Linked DNA regions of Homo sapiens: region 1 is linked to region 2. Evidence: promoter capture Hi-C in human tissues and cell types (Jung and others, 2019). All regions are on one chromosome and are shown on one strand. The core of a region is centred on a gene start or on the middle of the fragment in contact, and the rest is flanking DNA. Distances in the headings are between cores, read along the strand shown. Region 1 overlaps LOC100506639 (a long non-coding RNA gene). Region 2 holds the start of PAIP1 (poly(A) binding protein interacting protein 1).

Region 1 (2,700 bases), core at 97-2,596, 470 kb before region 2:
CAGTTAATTTATATTTGCAGAAACCATATGAATTTGTATGAAAATGATTTTTTAAAGTGCTATATCAAGAAAACTAGAACATAATGCAGAACAAATAAAATTTACTTATATGGGTGCCAAGAATAGAAATTCTGGGTTCCGCATACATCAGCATCTAGAAGAATCTGCAGTAGGTATGGATGGTTGATTGAGGCCTTTATTCAATGGTAGTCTACAAAGAATAAGACAGAAGTAAGAACTTTCCTGTTAAAATGGAAAGATAGAGTAAACAAGTTTAGGAATATCTCATAAGCCACTGATTCCATTCTTAGGTCTATATCCAAGGGAAATTCTTGCACATGCACACAAGGAAACATGGAAGAGAATGTCCATATATGTACTGTTCACAGTAACAAAAATTTGCTGAGGAGGAAGGAACTAAAACTCCAACAATAGGAGAGCGGATAGAAAGGAACATATTATATTCACAGAACGGAATATTTTACAAAAATCAGAATAAACTACAACATTACTCAAAATCATGGCTGCATTATAGCAACATAATATTCAGAGAAAAAGTTTAAAAGACTACATAGAACTGTCAATTGAGGAAAATGACAAGATAAGTCTCAATCATTTTAGGAGGTTTATTTGCCAAAGTTAAGGACATGCCTGGGAGACAGGTCTATGCCTTTCTCTGATGATGATTTTGAGGGCTCCAAATTTAAAGGGGAAAGGGCAGGATATTGAGAAGCGCACAGTTTTCACATAAACCAAAGGGGCAGAGGAAAAATATGGGGAATCTGCATTTTACATAAGATAACAGACAAAATGGGGTAGAGGGAACAATCAGATATGCATTTGTGTCTGGCGAGCAGGGTGACTGCACATGTAAAGATAAGCTATCAATTTGCATTGCCATGGTGAAGTTTTAACAGCTCACCAGGAATTTCCCTGTGGGCAAAATATGGGAGAGGCATGTAGCTTTTCATCTTGTAGCCATCTTATTTAGGAATCAAAAGCGGGAGGCAGGTTTGTGTGACCCAGTTCCCAGCTTAACTTTTCCCTTTGGCTAAATGAGTTTGGGGTCCCAAAGTTTAATTTCCCTTCACAGAACACAGTTTTATTTTATAAAATTAACAAAAACACACAATATGTAGATACATATTGATAAAAATAAAACTATGTAAAAAGGTAAACAACAGAATATTCAATTTAGTAATAAAATAACCAACTGTGGATGGTTATCTTGAATTGAAGGGTTGGAAATAAGGGATACAGGAAAATCACACACAATAAACTAAATTGGAAGATGGGCCTAATGCTAACACCAAAAATGGACCTCTTGACGGCAGAATTGCATTTATCTATCCAGCCTCAGGAAGAGTTACACAACCTCAAGTTTCCTCAAGTGAGGCTGTGTGTCTATGAAATGTGGGGCATGGAGAAGCAAGCATAGCACAGTTTTCCAGGAGGCGCTGGCTTAATAAAAGAGGGTGGAATGTGAGGGGCCAAACTTTTCATGTGTAGATCCCCTCTCAAACTCTACAACCAGATAATTCATTAGTTTAGTGGTGAGAACTAAAAGATGAGACATGAAACTAAAGTTATTCAGGTATAATTGTACCTTATAGAAACTGGACAAGGGGGATGCCACTTTTCCCACTTATACAATCATTCAGTGTATTGAACTACCCTGTGAAAAGATAAGTACAATTGCATTAATAGATTAAGTAAACTACAACAAGGTATGGGGTCACACACCTGTAGTCCCAGCTACTCAGGAGGCTGAGACAGGAGGATTGGTTGAGCTCAGGAGTTAAAGGCTGTAATGAGTTATAATCATGCCACTGCACTCCAGTATGCGTGACAGAGTAATACTTCATCTCTTGAAAAATAAAGAGAGAAAAGAGAGAAAGAAATTATAGCTTCAAACTCTATGCTATTTTGAAGACATAAAGTAAAATGATAAAAAGAGTTGAAAATAAAGGAGTGGACAAAGATACATCTGAATCTAATCAATTTTTTGAACTTTTATTTTAGGTTCAGGGGTACATTGGGTATATTTTAGGTTCAGGTGGGTGGAGGGATGTCCTTTAGTTCTGTCCTTTGTCCAGTACCCATGAAGATAAGCTGTTAATTTACATTGTTAGGGTGAAATTCAACAGAACTATTTTAGGGTACAGATATCAAGGTCCACAAGAAATTTCCTTGTGAGCAAACTGAAGATGGTATATAGCCTTTTGTCTTTGTAGCTCTCTATTTAGAGGAAAAAATAAGAGGCCATTTTATGTGACTTGGGTCCAAGCTTGACTTTTCCCTTCAACTTAGGGAATTTGGGGTCCTAGTATTTTTATTTGCCCTTCCTAGCTGTTATATGTAAGTTGCTCTGGTGATTTTTCCTGAAGTTTATATTGCCTAACTTCAGTTGGCAGGGCTTTAAGAAAAAGCACAATTTTAATCTTTAGTGAGTCTAACCAAGAAAAATGGAAACATCAGTTCAGAGACTTGTAGAGACAAAAATATTTAGTATTTGGTCTAAATTGTAGCCAAATAACAAAAACTCAAAAACAATGGGCAGGGCTAGAGTCTAATAACAGGTGTACTATAGTGTTTTTTCTGAAATGCAATTTTTCTTTCTTTTTTTTTTTTTTGAGATGGAGTCTTGCTCTGTTGCCCAGGCTGGAGTGCAGTGGCACTATCTCGGCTCACTGCAAGCTC
Region 2 (2,700 bases), core at 81-2,580:
ACAAACATACTCTGATTAACAAAGTAACAACCACATTATTCCAGTAAATTAACCCAGAGTTGTAGGAAAAAGGGTGTACTTACTGTGTAACTGGAAGAATAACCTGAAGGGTAAAATTCAGGGGCATTCACAGACAGCTTAGACATTAATACAGGAGCTACAACCACCTGGGGCTTAGCCATTGCTGACTCCGAGTTCTGCTGTGGGATTTTATCCTGTGAACTAGGTGGAGCTCTCAGGGGCCTCGTTTGCTCTGCAAAAGAAAAAAAAACGGGGCGTCAGATGCATTCTTTCCTTTGTACAGCAACTTGCTATATACTGAAAAACCATCTGAAAAGCGTCTGTTTTTAAGAGTTAAACAGGAACCATCATGAAATTTATGGTTATCGCCGGAATGTGTACAGACAGCCTACAAAAAGGAACAATAGACTTGCTGTGACTCCGTTATGGGCATACCTGCCTCTCAAATGAGTGCTTGCGAGCTTTTTTCCTCTCTGTCGTTTTAAAGGGGTCGGTGGAAAAGAGGTGGTTACTCGCTAGGGTCTCGCTTTAGAGGGCTGCTGAGGGGAGGCGATTTTTACTTCCTCCCGGGACCCCGAACTCCGAGACCGCGCACCCGGCCCCTCCCCCCAGCCAGGCGCACAAAGGATTCCAGCAGACACCTTCCAAACCCGGTTCCGGGCCCGTCCCTACCCGGTCACGCGGCCCTCTCGGGGAATGCTTTCGGGGAACCGGGGGTGGGGACCGCAGACAGCGCGTCGGGCCTCGGCACGCGTGGAGGGCCGTGGGGAAGCGTTCGCCAAGGAGGACTGGGGCCCTTAGAGCTGCTCCGTACCTGGGAGCGCCCCGGGCCGGGAAGGCCGCTGGGGGCTGGCGGGGACCTCGCACTGGGCCCCTGGCGGCGGGGTCGTCCTGGGCTGGCGCAGCGGCGGTGGCTGCAGGAAGCCCGGGGCTTTGGGTTGCGGCGGCTGGTGCCGCGCCCGCTCAGCAGGCCCCGCTCCGTTCGGGAAACCGCCGCCCTCAGGCCCGCCCCCTCCGCGGCCCAGGCCCCGGCTCCGGCCCCGACCAGCACCTGGGGCCCGATCGAAACCGTCCGACATGCTCCTCCTCCTCCGCCTCCTCCTCCAGGGGCCGCTGCCGCTGCGCTCGCGATAGGACGCGGGGGGAAGGCGCCGCGGGTCGGCTATAGCCGCCGCGCCTCACTCGGGCCTCATGGAGGAGGAGGGCGGCGGGCCCCGGCTCGGCTGCTCGGTGCTTCTGGCGGAGCGGACGGCAGCCCGAGCACCCGCCGCTCCAGAGCGCCCGCCCCGCTCGGCTACCCTCGGCTTTCCAGTTCTCCCCCAAAACCCGGCTCCCCGCCTTCGGCGCGGCAGGGGCGCAGGCGGGTCACAGCGGCCCCCTGCGGCCCGGAGGCCCGGGACGCGCCCGCGAGGATCCTCCAGTTCGCGGCTGGCCGGCCGCCGGGCCCAGCAGGCCGCCCGCCGAGTGGCGTCTTGGCCACCTGCCGGCCCGCAGCCAGGCTCGGGCAGGGGCATCTCGGTTCCGGGGCCAGGCTGGGGGGGATGAGGGATGAGGGGTGAGGGGGACGCTTACCACAGGCAGGCCCGACCTACTCGGTAGTTCTCAGGAGAGACGTGCGAGACCGACAGTTGACGCCCGGGAAATAAAAACACGGGGGGAGGGGGCGTGGACCCTGCGCCAGGGTTCGCTGGCGCACAGGTGTGTTCAATGACTCGGCTCCGGCCGAGACCCGCGGACTGCTGAGGAGTGGTCCCTGGGAGACTGTCACCTGCTCCGTTAGCATCGGGGGAAGGGAGTAGAAACGGAATCAAAATATGTGTCCCCTCTTTAATTCACCCTAGGTGTTTACCACAGTAGGTCACACCTACGTTTAACAAGCTTCGTTCTCTTCCCGTTAACCTTCCCCTCCAGAAATTTCAAGAAAATGTGCTACCTTTCAGTGTAACTCTGCCCTCTTTTTCATCTTGCATCAGTGCTGTCCAATGAAAATATAATGCGAGCCACAAATGCAAGCCACTTATGTAATTTTACATTTTGGAGAAGCCACATTAAATGAGTGAAAAGAAACAGGTGTGGCCAGGCGCAGTGGCTCACGCCTGTAATCCCAGCACTTTGGGAGGCCGAGGGGGGCGGATCACCTGAGGTCGGGAGTTCGAGACCAGCCAGACCAACATGGAGAAACCCCGTCTCTACTAAAAATACAAAGTTAGCCGGGCGTGGTGGCACATGCCTGTAATCCTAGCTATTCTGGAGGCTGAGGCAGGAGAATCGCTTGAACGCAGGAGGCAGAGGTTGCAGTGAGCCGAGATCGTACCGTTGCACTCCAGCCTGGGCAACAAGAGCCAAACTCTGTCTCAAAAAACAAAACAAAACAAAACAAAAACCAGGTGAAATTAATTTAAATTTATTTAATCCATTATGTTCAAAATGGTTTTTTAACATGCGATTTAAAATATTAAATATTTTCTCTGTTTTTTAGATACTAGTTGAAATCCAGTGTATATTTTACACTTATGGCACATCTTAGTCGGGATTGGCACATTTCAAGGGCTCAAGAGCCACATGTGGCTAGTGGCTACTGCGTTGCACAGCACAATTCTAGATTTTATTAATATGTAAATTGTTGTTTTTGTCAGGCCTGACAGTATTAATGCCAAATAAAGGATAGATGAATATAAG

Evidence for each region. Contacts are between HindIII fragments. The study calls those that stand out against the background at their distance.
Region 1: a contact is called between a fragment that was not itself captured here and the fragment with the promoter of PAIP1 in region 2, in 1 of the 25 tissues and cell types used here (lymphoblastoid cells).

The regions. Positions count from the first base shown.
Region 1 is chr5:43,080,757-43,083,456 of GRCh38, forward strand. The region is part of intron 2 of LOC100506639 (a long non-coding RNA gene); the gene reads left to right. Among named protein-coding and RNA genes, the nearest start is that of ANXA2R-OT1, 15 kb to the left of the region's middle. The HindIII fragment of the contact is 3,027 bases long and covers 1-2,700 here.
Region 2 is chr5:43,555,747-43,558,446 of GRCh38, forward strand. PAIP1 (poly(A) binding protein interacting protein 1) reads right to left here and starts at 1,331. Exons shown (of 11, transcript NM_006451.5): 1 at 836-1,331; 2 at 84-253. The coding sequence starts at 1,100. RefSeq lists a silencer at 767-1,626. The HindIII fragment of the contact is 2,914 bases long and covers 888-2,700 here.